3 separate regions of the Homo sapiens genome follow, and all the other regions are linked to region 1. Evidence: promoter capture Hi-C in 16 types of primary human blood cells and fetal thymus (Javierre and others, 2016). All regions are on one chromosome and are shown on one strand. Each heading gives the region's core, a stretch centred on a gene start or on the middle of the fragment in contact. The rest is flanking DNA. Distances are from core to core; before and after follow the strand shown.

Region 1 (4,151 bases), core at 1,205-3,704:
TTTAAACATGGCTAACAATGTACCAATTTAAATTACATACCTCGCTGACAAATCTGTGGCTTGCTTATACTGTTTTTTTGAGATGTAATTTCCCTCTTTCACCTAGGCTGGAGTGCAGTGGCGGGATCTCGGCTCACTGCAACCTCCACTTTCCAGTTTCAAGCGATTCTCCTGCCTCAGCCTCCCGAGTAGCTGGGATTACAGGCTCCTGCCACCACGTCCAGCTAATTTTTGTATTTTTAGTAGAGACTGGGGTTTCAACATGTTGGCCAGGCTGGTCTCGAACTACTGACCTGGTGATCTGCCCGCCTCGGCCTCCCAAAGTGCTGGGATTACAGGCGTGACCTACTGTGCCTGGCCTGCTTTGTTTATACTTCTATTGCACCGTGATGACCCAGAATGCTGGCTACTATAAAATTTAACAATTAAATGTTAAATTTAACATTTAATTGAGCTAGGTGTGGTGGCACGTGCCTATAATCCCAGCTACTTGGGAGCCTGAGGCAGAAGGACTGCTTGAGGTCAGGAGTTAAACCTGTGGGATGATTGCACCTGTGAACAGCCACTGCACTCCAGCCTGGGCAACACAGTGAGACCCAATCTCTAAAAAGCTTTCCTAGGCCGGGTGGTGGCTCATGCCTGTAATCCCAGCACTTTGGGAGGCCGAGGTGGGTGGATCACTTGAGGCCAGGAGTTTGAGACCAGCCTGGCCAACATGGCAAAACCCCATCTCTACTAAAACCACAAGAATTAGCTGGGTGTGATGTTGCACGCCTGTGATCCCAGCTACTTGGGAGGCTGAGGCACGAGAATCACTTGAATAGGGAGGCAGAGGTTGCAGTGAGCTGAGATCACACCACTGCATTCCAGCCTGCACAGCAGAGTGAGACCCTGTCTCCAAAAAAAAAAAAAAAAAAAAAAAAAACTTCTAAGAAAATATGATTAAAAAAAGAAACAGGCTGGGCACCGTGGCTCCCGCCTGTAATCCCAACACTTTGGGAGGCCAAAGCAGGAGGATCACTTAAGTCTAGAAGTTTGAGACCAGCCTAGGCAATACAGCAAGACCTCATCGCTACAAAAAAATAAAACATTAGCCAGGCATAGTGGCACATCCTGTAGTCTAAGCTACTCAGGAATCTGAAGCCGGAGGATTGATTGCCTGAGCTGGGGAAGTTGAGGCTGCAGTTAGCTGTGATCATACCACCGCACTCCAAATTGGGTGACAGAGTGAGATCCTGTCTCAAAAAAAAAAAAAAAAAAAGAAAAACAAAATTGTAGGCCAGGCGCAGTGGCTCAAGCCTGTAATCCCAGCACTTTGGGAGGCTGAGGCGGGCAGATCACGAGGTCAAGAGATACAGATCATCATGGCCAACACGGTGAAACCCCGTCTCTACTAAAAATACAAAAATTAGCTGGTTGTGGTGGCGCAGCGCCTGTAGGCCCAACTACTTAGGAGGCTGAGGCAGGAGAATCGCTTGAACCTGGGAAGCGGAGGTTGCAGTGAGCGGAGATCACGCCACTGCACTCCAGCCTGGCGACAGAGCGAGTCTCCGTCTCAAATAAATAAATAAATAAATAAAAATAAAAAGACTATTATTTTCAGATCATAAAAAAAAAAAAGAAAAAATTAGGCAGAGTGCAGGCATGCCTGTAATCCCAGCTCTTTGGGAGGCGGAGGCAGGAGAATCGCTTGAGTCCAGGAGTTCGAGACCAGCCTGGGCAACAGAACCAGAGCCCATCTTTACATAAAAAAAAATTAAACATGTAGCTTGCATGTATTTCTACTAGGGCATTCTAGGCCAGCGCTGGTTTAGAATGTTAGCCCAATAAGACCAGGTATTTTTTTTCTGCTCACTGCCCATACAGTGATTGACACACAGTAGGCGCTCAATGACATTTTAATGAATGAATGAGATGCTGAGCCTTCGGGAACTGGCTTGCTCAAAGAGCCAGCACCGATGAAGCGCTGACCACGTTCCATGCCCCGCCTCCTCAGCGCACCAGAGAAGGAAACTGAGGCCCGGCAAGGTGACGTCAGCTCCTGCCCAACGGCACGTAGTGCGGAAACGTCGGGGCCGGGATTCGAACCCAGGTTCTGTACCCGTAACCCCGGCGCGCTGACCTTTCCTACCTTACCGGGCGGCGGCAGGACAGACAGGTGCGGGACACACGGCGAGCGCTCAACCAGAGGCGCCGCTCCTCAGCCACCGCCTTCCGTCAGCCTCCGAGGGCCGGAACCCAGTTCGCCCCCTCCGCGGCCATCGCTGGCTGCCCGCGTCTCCGCCGGCCGCGGAGCACTTCGCAGGCGGCGCCGACCGGAAGTCCCGCCTCTCCCGCGCGCCCCGGAGCGCCGCGACAGCTACGCCGGCCAATGAGCAGCGCGCCGTGGCGGACGTCGGCCAATGGGCTCGCGCGCGGGGGGGGCGTGTCCGGGCCGCGGGCCGGAGCGGGTCGTGCGCGCTGAGGAGGAGCCGCTGCCGCCGTCGCCGTCGCCGCCACCGCCGCCACCGCTACCGAGGCCGAGCGGAGCCGTTAGCGCCGCGCCGCCGCCGCCTCCCGCCCGCCCCGGAGCAGCCCCGGGCCCGCCCGCCCGCATCCAGGTGAGGCGGTGGGGGGCCTTCGGCGGCGCCCGACGGGGTAGGCCGCGGCAGGCCTGAGCTCGCCTGGCCTGGCCGCGGGGCGCCCGCGGGCCTGCACCGGCCGAGGCCCAGGCCGCGCCGGACCGGGGGAGGGGACGCGCGCTGGGGCCGCGGCGGGCGGGTCGGGGCGGGCCGGTGTGGGCGCCGGCTACAGGCCCCGGGGCCGGATTCCTCTGGCGCCTCGAGGGACGGGCGAGGGGGATACGGCGTGGGCATGCGCCGGGGGGCCGGGCTGCACGGCCGGGGGCCCCGGTCGCCTTGGAAGCCCGGGCTCCGGGGGCGGGAGAGTGGGGCCAGCTACGGGGGAGCGCCGGGAACGCTTTGAGCGCGCAGAGGTCACGGCCCACGGGCTTGCTCCCCCGGGAAATCCCACAGATTCTTTTGTGGTCGTTGTCAGAGCACCGCGGCCGGTGCGAGGTCCTTTGAGAAGTGTGCAAACCCTTCAGTAGATACACGGGAGTCCTGGGGGAAAAAAAAAATCTAAACTGCATCTTTTTTTGAGCGCCATCTCTAACAAAGCTGTTTGTGGGGCGTGGGACGTTAGGATTTGTAAAATATGTGTGTGTGCCTGTTGGAAACACAAGCTGCACACAGTTGAACAATGGGGGATGGATGCCCTTCCTTCCTTTTCCGGTGCTCTGGGCTGCGGGGCTTGTTAAAATGGGTTTTGGTCCCTACTGTGTGCAGGGCAGGTGGAGAAGAACTTCTGCACAACTTCTGCATGGGCTTCCCGTGGTGGGACTGAGCCCCCTTGCTAGAAAGTGTTCATCTAAGATCCGGATGGCCAGAAATGGGAAGATGAGGAGAATGATCTGTCTAGAGCAGGGTTTCTCGACGTTGGCCCTACTGATGTTTGGGGTCAGATAGTTTTTGGTTGTGGTGGTAGTGGGGGCTTCCCTGTGCAATGTAGGAAGTTGAGCCGTATTCCTGGCCTCTACCCACTAGATGCCAGCAGTATCCCCATGCTCCAAGTCGTGAGGATCAAAAGTATCTCCAAACATTGCCAGATGGCTCGGGTTGCGGGGGAGGGGTCTCTTCCACTCTCACACGCACAGGTGAGAACCATTACTGAACTAAATGCTCTTCCTCCAAAAGTTCTAATGCCCTGGGAGATGCTCCCAAGACCTCGAACAAGCTTGACTCTGTTGAGCCTTAGTTTTCTTATCTATAAAATGGGAAGGACAAAAGTGTGGTGCAAATTGAAGAGGGTGGAAATCCCGTTGCGTTGTGCGTGGTCTGTGCCTGGTAGGCACTGAATAAATGATGTTGTACATAGCCACCAGTATTTATTGAGGATTTACTATGTGCTTGACACTTTGTGGACGTTTGTCTGCAGTCCTTGAGGCAGGTGATGTTATAATTTCCATTAATTTCCATTTTAGAGATGAAGAAACTGAGGCTTAGATGGGTCACTTGATGTGACCAGTCTCATGCACTAAAGTGGCTGCGCCAGGGTTTGAACTCGGGCCCTCTGATTCAAAACCCTTACTCTTAACCACTCGATTGTACTGC
Region 2 (4,151 bases), core at 686-3,185, 210 kb before region 1:
GAGACGGGGTTTCACTATATTGGCCAGGCTGGTCTCGAACTCCTGACCTCAGGTGATCTGCCCGCCTCGGCCTCTCAAAGTGCTGGGATTACAGGCGTGAGCCACCGCGCCGGGCCTCTCTATGCTACTCTGGTCAGAGCCATGATGGGTCTGAGGGGCCTATTCAAGGATGGCAAAGAAAAGCCTGCGCTTGGCCAGGCACAGTGGCTCATGCCTATAATCCTAGTGCTTTGGGAGGTTGAGGCTGGAGGCTCGCTTGAGGCCAGGAGTTCAAGACCAGCCCGGGCAACATAGTAAGACCCCTGTCCATGTGTATAAAATTTTTTTTTAAGGATTAGCTAGGCCTGGTGGTGCATGCCTGTGGTCCCAGCTCTCAGGAGGCTGAGGTTGAGCTCAGGAGGTCGAGGCTGCAGTGAGTTATGATCATGCCACTGCACTCCAACCTGAGCGACAGAGCAAGATTCTGCCTTTGAAAGAAAGAAAGAGGCCGAGTGCAGTGGCTCATGCCTGTAATCCCAGTACTTTAGGAGGCTGAGGCGTTTGAGCTCAATAGTTTCAGACCAGCCTGGGCAACTGGCAAAACTCTACAAAATCACTACAAAAAAATGCAAAAATTAGCCAGGTGTGGTGGCTTATGCCTGTAGTCCCAGGCTGATTGCTTAAACTTGGGAGGTGGAGGTTGCAGTGGGCGAAGATCGCACCACTGCACCCCAGCCTGGGCAACAGAGCCAGAACTTGTCTTGAAAAAACAAAACAAAAACAAGAAAGAAAAGCAAAGAAAAGAGCTTGTACTGAAAGGCATGGGGAACAGAACAGGGTTGGTAAAGAGCAGCCACAAAAGAAAGTGAGACGGGCTGGGCGCAGTGGCTCACACCTGTAATCCCAGCACTTTGGGAGGCCGAGGCAGGTGCATCACCTGAGGTCAGGAGTTCGAGACCAGCCTGGCCAACATGGTGAAACCCACCCCCCTTCATCTCTACTAATAATATAAAAATTAGCCAGGTGTGGTGGTTCGCACCTGTAATCCCAGCTACTCAGGAGGCTGAGGCAGGAGAATTGCTTGAACCCGGGAGGTGGAGGTTGCAGTGGGCCGAGATCGCACCATTGCACTCCAGCCTGGGCGACAAGAACGAAACTCCATTCCAAAAAATAAAAAAAATAATAATTAAAAAAACAGTAAGATGCCTGCTACTGAATTATCAAACAGGGGTTTCAAGACCCTTTCCTCCTATGACAGCCCCAGCTCCCTTGGCTCCCAGCTTGCCACCCACTCCTGGTTTTCCTTCTGCCCTCTTTCTGCTGTCTCCCAAGCTCCCAGCTTGCTTTAAAGCCCATCCTACGCCGTACCACCTGGGTGTCTAGCAGCATGGCAATTTCCAGATGCTGAGAACAGATTGCTGACTTACACCTAAAGCTTCTCCCCCATGAGCAGCTGCTCCCTCCCCCGGCCTCTCCATATCTCTCCAAGATCCACCCAAGTCTCACCCGTCCACGCCTTCACCTGGTCCAGCCCCACCATTACTCCCCTGGCCTGGTGCAGTCCCTTCCATCCTGGTCTCCAGGCTCCTGCCTTCGACCCCTGCAGTCTGTTCCCTGAGCTCTAAATAATGCCAAATGCTTGTTCAAGGCTGGCAGGCTGGCTCTGCCCTTCTTCCTCTCCCCTCTTCTGGATCTTACAACCCTGGCTTTGTGGTTGTTTCATCCAAGCACCCTGGCAGTTTCTCTCCTCTGCAATTTGCCCACTGGTCTCTTGGCCTGGTTAACTCCTCCTTACCCTTAGCGACCCAGCCAACTGTCACCTCCTCCAGGAGGCCTTCCCTGACTCCTCCTTAGGCTGAGTCAGGTGACTCCTCTGGACTCCCCCTGACCCCAGGCATGACTCTGAATTTTTTTTTTTTTTTTTTTTTTTGGAGATAGTCTCACTTTGTTGCCCAGGCTGGAGTGCAGTGGCGCGATCTCGGCTCACTGCAAATTCTGCCTCCCAGGTTCAAGAGATTCTCCTGCCTCAGTCTCCCATGCAGCTGAGATTACAGGTACATGCCACCACGCCCGGCTAATTTTTGTATTTCTAGTAGAGATGGGGTTTCACCATGTTGGCCAGGCTGCTCTCGAACTCCTGACCTTAGGTGATCTGCCTGCCTCAGCTTCCCAAAGTGCTGGGATTACAGGCGTGAGCCACCACGCCCAGCCCCTCCGTGATATTTTAATAGCCTCCAGCTCTGTGATATTCTCGTGATATTTTAATAGCCTGTTTAGCACGTATTCACAACCAGCCAGGCACTGTGTTCAGCTCTTTACCTATAGGTCATGACTGCTATTATCCCATTTTACAGGTGGAGAAACTGAAGCAGGAAGTGGTGAAGTCAGTAGCCCGGAGGCCCTCAACTCAAAGTGGCAGGACAGGGCTGGGGGGTGGTCAGGCTCAAGCCCAGCCAGTCGGAAAGGGAGAAGCTTGTGGTGCTCAGAGAAGGGGACAGGGCAGCGAGCTCCCAAGGCACCTGCCTTTCTGTGCCATCCCACGGGTGGGAGGAGGGAACCTGGGCCCACTTCTGCTGCCAACTACAGGCATCCCAGTGGCTCCTGAGCCAAGACATTCTGTGCCACGCACTGGGTCAACCGCTTTATTCAACCTGCAGACAGCCCTGGGTCAGGAGGTGGACACTGTTGTGAATTTCTCAGAGGAGAAATGGAAGCCCATACATCCCCCTGAACTCCCACCGGGCGTTAGAACCCTCTCCGGTTCCTTAGGGGTGTGGCTGCCACCGAGATCTGCCTAGCCTCGGCTTTCATCGATCCATGAACACTCCCAGGCTCAGATACTACTGACCCATTTTACAGATGGGTAAACTGAAGCTCAGAAACCTTTCCCTGGGGGCCCTACAGCCAGTTCAACGACCAAGGCCGCCCCCCACCCCCCACACCCCAGGCTCAAAGTACCTCTGCTGGCAGTGGGTGAGCTGGAAAAACAGGTAAGGAAAGTCCTCAATGCCTCTTCCTCCACGCCTGGCTGGGCCTGCTGGGGCCCAGGTGCACTGAATGAGGCTTCTAATCAGTCCCCCAGCTCCACTTCTGTGTTTATTCACAGCAGCTGCTCCTGGAAGGCAGACCCATTTGAGGCTGGGGGAGGCCGAGGGCTTCAAAGACAATTCCACAGTCCAGGAACCCTATCCCCATATAACAGACCCAGGTCGCCCCAGTGGGGTCACCCTGGCCTCTGCGCTCAGATGCCTGAGACCTTGCCTGAGCTCAGACTGGAGTCGATGGGAGCATTCCCCCATCTGGTAGGTTTTGCAAACCACAACAGCCTCTCCCCCTGCCCACCTTCCTGTGTCCCCCAGAGCAGCTTCTCCTCAAGTCTCCCAACCCAGCAATGAAAGCCTCTTCTATATACTCCTAACTACCCAGGAGAAACATCGGTCCCCCACGCTCCACTTGCAAACAGACAGAATTAGACGATGTTACTCTGCCAAAGCGAATTTTCAGTTCACCCACTTCCTATCACACCTTCCAGCCAGGTCAAGCCAGAAGCCCCCTTCCAAGTATCCCCATCTCTCCTACCCACAGCGGCTACGGGATGTTCTTAAGACACAATCCGATCACGCCATGCACCTGCTGTTCCAAGCCTCCCTGGTCCCCACCGCCCCGAGAACGGGTTCCACACTCTCCTCGCCGCTTCCCAGGCCCCGGCCAACCTCTCTCCACCTCAGACCCTCCCTCTCCGCGTTTCAGCCAGGCTGGCCTCTTTTCTGCTCCGCACACACTCCCGGCTAGGCCCTGGGCCTAAAAAGCCCTCGCTGGCTGGTCCAACCAGGCCAAATGACATTATCCCCGCCTGGGCACCTCCACCTCACCCCGGCCGCCTGATGGGTTAGCTCGGGCTTGGAATGACGTGTTTAAGCGGTTCTCAGAAGCCGTCTACGCGGCCGGGCTGCGGACTCCGAGGCCAGGGCCCCAGCTGCGTCCCCAGCCCTGGCACGTCGGGGAAACGGGGCGCTCCCCCGGCTCACACATCCGGATTCCCCCGCGTCACGAGGCCAGGATCGCCCCTACTCGCTCCAGCCCGTTTCACAGCCGCGTCCTCGGGCACCCGTTGCGCCCCGGCCCTCGTGGGGGAGCGCGGATAGCTCGGGGAGACGGCCATGATGGGAAGC
Region 3 (4,151 bases), core at 715-3,214, 140 kb before region 1:
CCGGAAGTACTGTGGTGGGGGGATATTCAGCACAATCAGCTTTGGGAGTTCAATAGAGTAAACTCACAATTTGCGGATAGGGAGGGAATTTTTGAACTGGACTTTGACAGATGCGTAGGAGTTTGCTGGATGGAGTAACAGCTTCAGGCCCAACGCACAGCTTCTGACAGATCCCCATGTTAAGGGTCTATTCTCAAAGGTATGAAGGTAGTGGAAAAGCCTAGAAATTTTTGTTTGGAGTACTGACAACAGATAGGGAGCCAAAATTCTTGTCTGGTCCCTTTGGTAGGTGGACAAACAGGTTCAAAGAGATTTGAAAGTTTACACCGTTTGAATTGTTAACCTCTTCATTTTGAGAACCAGATGAAAAACCTGGGCCCTTCTCCCTGGGAAATACAGCTTTGCCCAATGTTTTGTCAACATATTTAGGGGCCCCTGATCTCAGCCTAGTTAAGAATCCAGGCTCCAAGAGCCAGGTGAGTTTCCAACGTCACTCTCGCAATTCTCCTTGCTCGAGGGAGGGGGTGGCGGCTTGGGAGGCCCTGAGAGGGCCGCCCAGGTGAGTCCCGGGACTTCTCTGCCCAGGCTGTCGTCCAGGCCCTCCAAAAGTCAGAGCCCCACCTCCACCTTAGTCTCGATCCGAAAACGCGGCCCCGGCAGCCCCTACTAGGCGCCCCCAGCCCGCCCTCACATCCCTCCAGTCCATCGGAGTTTTTCACTCGGAGCCCCGGACCCTCCCCCGAGCCGCAGCCTCTCTCCCCGCCCCGGATCGGAGCCCCCCGTCCCCGCCCCGGGAGCTAAGAGGTGCAAACGCGCCCTCCTCCAACTCCTCCCGCCCCCAACTCCCCCCCGAGTGGCAGCTCTGGGCTGGGAACGCGGCGGGGTCGGCCTCTCGGCTTTGCGTTCCCGCCCCGGGTCCCCGGCGCCGCAGGAGCCCGCCCTGCAGCGCTGAGTCCCGCGCGTCCGCCTGCCGTGCCCGCCTCCACGCGCGCCGCCTCGCAGGTAGGTGAAGGCGCGGGGCCAGCGGCGGGGCGAGATCGCGGGCGCTGAAGGGTGGAGAAGGCGGGGGCGGGGGGGCCGGCAGGGGGAGGGGGAGAGGATTCCTTTGTTCGCAGCCGGGCAGCCCCGGGCCCAGCCCCCTCCCCTCTCCGCCTTCTAGTGGCGCCCGCCGCAGTGGGGAGTGGGGGCGCGGGGACCCGGCGGGAGGGGCTCGGCCGGGGCGCGGGGCCCCTGACCCCACAGGTGAGGGCGGAGCCAAGCGTGGTCGCGGCCGGGGGCCCTGCCGGGTGGAGATCGCGCCCCGCGGGCTCCGGGGGCGCCCCCTCCCCGTCGGCGAAGCTTGGTATCCCTCGCTGTTTGGCCCTCAGCCTCCACACCCCGTGCCGGGCGCGCCTTCTCTGCTCATTCATTCCACAAACTCCAGGGTGTGGCTCGCAGAAGCAGCGGTGTGTAGGGGGGACCGAGGCAAATCAGGCCAGAGACTCCCCCCACCTAATTCCCCCACCCGACCCGAGGCAGGGGGCTGGGGCGGAGGGAGTGGGGGAGGAGGGCTTGCAAGCCCCGAGGCTGCTTGGAGTCCACGGAGCCTCAGAGTGCGGACTGACCCGGACAACTGAGAAGAAAAAGAGGGCGCCCCTCTCCAGCCAGCCAACCCTCCAACGTTGACAGGGGTCTCTCCCTTCTCCGGGGCCTTTGGACAACCAGGTTGGCCCAGAGAGGGGCGTGGCCAAGACCACACAGCAGGGCTCCCCGCCCATTCTCCACCTAGGGCCGGTTCCTTTCCTCCCTGGAACCTGAATGGAACAGGAAGGCCACTTGGTCTGGCTTCTCTCCCTCAAGTATTTTGCCTCCACCCTCCAAACGGTCGTCTCCTGTCCCGGTCTTCTCCCTCCCGTCCTTCATGGCCCAGGAAAGACCCAGCCAAGGGGGGCAGGAGCGAGTTCCGTTCCTGATCTTCTTCCCCTCCTTCTTCTCTTCGTGGGCTTAAGCTCCGGCTTAGCCCCTCACTCATGGTGTGATGGCCTTAGTTTGTGCATCTGTGAAATGGGCACAGAAGCGGTCCCTTCCCTGCTGGGCACAGGGTTACTCTCTGCATTGGGAAGTTCCAGCCCCTGCCTGGGCCCCCTGCCCAGGGAGGCATCCAGCCCTGACCTGGGAGCAGTGAACAGTCAGAGGAGGCTTCCTGGAGGAGGTGTGATGTTAGAAAAGGGTCTTGCGGCTAAGGGTGCACAGCCCAGGCAAGACCGGCGTGGGATGTGGAGGCGAGGGGACACAGGGCCAGGTGGGGCCAGGCATTGCAGGAGTGGGGGTATCTGTGTCACAGAGGGACAGTGGGGTTGTTGCCTTCCACGACTTACCATCTTCCTCCTACCCTGGACGCTCTCTGGGCTCCACCGTCCCAGCTAGAACTTTGGGAATCTCCTCAATGCCCTCCACCTCCCACGACATGAGCCTCCCATTCCTCTCCTCTCTCTCCCATCTGGACAGCCCCCAGCCTTCTGACACCCTGTTTCCCCCCCGGGACCCTGCTGCCCTTCCCCACACCACCTAACATGCATTTCTGACCTTGCTCCTCCCACTCAAAGCTTTTCAAGGGCTCTTCATTGTCCTTGACGAATGAGCAAAAGCTGCATGACACTGCTATGCCCACTCCTGCAACGCCTGGCCCCACCTGGCCCCACCTGGCCCTCTCTCCCCTCCCTTCCACTTCCCACTCCCGTCTTGCCTTGGCTGTGCACCCTCAGCCCCAAGACCCTTCTCTAACATCACACCTCCTCCAGGAAGCCTCCTCTGACTGTTCACCGCTTCCCGGTTGGGGCTGGATGCCTCCTTGGGCTCCCAGAGGCCCCGGGGCTGCCCCATTTGGCAACCACCCTGCCCTCCTCGTTGTGTTGGGTCCCCCATGGCTAGGGTGGGGGGCTCATCTAGGGCTGACTCTGCTTCCTCTCCGCAGCCTCCAGGGGACACGCCATGACTCTGGAGGGTCTGTATTTGGCAAGGGGCCCCCTGGCCCGGCTCCTGCTGGCCTGGTCGGCCCTGTTGTGCATGGCAGGTGGCCAAGGCCGCTGGGACGGGGCCTTGGAGGCTGCAGGTCCTGGACGTGTGCGGAGGCGGGGCAGCCCAGGCATCTTGCAGGGGTGCGTGGTACCTGGGATGCTGGGAGACCCCTTCGGTGTGGATTGGGCTGTCCTGGGGCCAGCGGAATACCCGGGGGGATGTCCACACGGGCAGGGGCTCACCAGACCCATCTCGCTGTCCCCGAAGGCCGAATGTGTGCGGCTCCCGGTTCCATGCCTACTGCTGTCCAGGCTGGAGGACATTCCCTGGCAGGAGCCAGTGTGTCGTACGTGAGTGCTACCGCCGTCTGGAGGTGGGGGGGCACAGGCCGGGGACACTCTTACCTGCCTGCAGGTTCAGCTCTGTTTACACGGGGACTTAGCCAGGGACCTCTGGCTGAACCACAGGAATGGCCCTTGCATCTGCGTCTGTCCTCAGGGTTCCAGGCCAACCTGCCATGTTCATTTCCTTTGCCCTACAACCTCCTTGTGTCTGTCTGTCTCTCTGGTTCCCTTGCTTTGTCTCTGCCTCTCTCTATTCATCTCTGCTCATGTCTCTCTCTGTTGGTTTCTTTTCTTTATTATTATTATTTTTAGAGATGGGGGTCTCTGTGTTGCTCAGGCTGGTCTCAAACTCTGGCCTCAAGCGATTTTCCCATCTCAGCCTCCCAAAGTGCTAGGATTCCAGGTGTGAGCCACTGCACCTGGCCTCTCTCTGTTGGTTACTGTCTCTCTATCTAACTGATTCTCTCTCTCTCTGTTTCTCTGAGTCTCTCTCTGTTTGTCTCTCTCTGGCCTCACCCTCTCTTTCTGTTTCTGTCTCTGGAATCTGACTCCACTTCCCAGGAGACACCCAACCTCAGTATCCAGGACCCCAGCACCTCCAGCTCTGTCCTCACAGCTCAGCAGCTCTGGCCCAAAGAGCATTCTCTCCCCATGGCTCTAGCAGAGTCCCCAACCCACAGCCTGGGTCACACACCCTGCCCAGCCCAGCCCGAGAGTGGGGGGACATCCCATGAAAACAGGGGTGGGGTGTGCTATGAGCAGAGCCGGGGATGCAGATGACCAGCAGCGTCCACTGAGGTGTTCCGGCCA

Evidence for each region. Contacts are between HindIII fragments. The CHiCAGO score rates a contact against its expected background, and 5 or more counts as called.
Region 2: a fragment that was not itself captured here is called in contact with the fragment with the promoter of ELAVL1 in region 1 in 4 of 17 cell types (fetal thymus, activated CD4 T cells, erythroblasts and 1 more); the score reaches 6.0 in fetal thymus.
Region 3: a fragment that was not itself captured here is called in contact with the fragment with the promoter of ELAVL1 in region 1 in 1 of 17 cell types (megakaryocytes); the score reaches 6.6 in megakaryocytes.

What each region holds. Positions count from the first base shown.
Region 1 is chr19:8,003,944-8,008,094 of GRCh38, reverse strand. It overlaps ELAVL1 (ELAV like RNA binding protein 1), which reads left to right and starts at 2,454. Exons shown (of 6, transcript NM_001419.3): 1 at 2,454-2,600. LOC105372266 (a long non-coding RNA gene) reads right to left here and starts at 2,282. Exons shown (of 4, transcript XR_936302.2): 1 at 2,137-2,282. RefSeq lists silencers at 2,079-2,568, 2,799-2,998, 3,029-3,078. The HindIII fragment of the contact is 3,163 bases long and covers 614-3,776 here.
Region 2 is chr19:8,209,649-8,213,799 of GRCh38, reverse strand. It overlaps CERS4 (ceramide synthase 4), which reads right to left. Exons shown (of 12, transcript NM_024552.3): 2 at 2,938-3,094. Among named protein-coding and RNA genes, the nearest start is that of CERS4, 2.4 kb to the right of the region's middle. RefSeq lists a silencer at 3,830-4,151. The HindIII fragment of the contact is 1,037 bases long and covers 1,417-2,453 here.
Region 3 is chr19:8,146,300-8,150,450 of GRCh38, reverse strand. It overlaps FBN3 (fibrillin 3), which reads left to right and starts at 859. Exons shown (of 64, transcript NM_032447.5): 1 at 859-1,002; 2 at 2,954-3,137; 3 at 3,265-3,347. The coding sequence starts at 2,971. RefSeq lists enhancers at 1,702-2,672, 2,673-3,644. The HindIII fragment of the contact is 1,247 bases long and covers 1,341-2,587 here.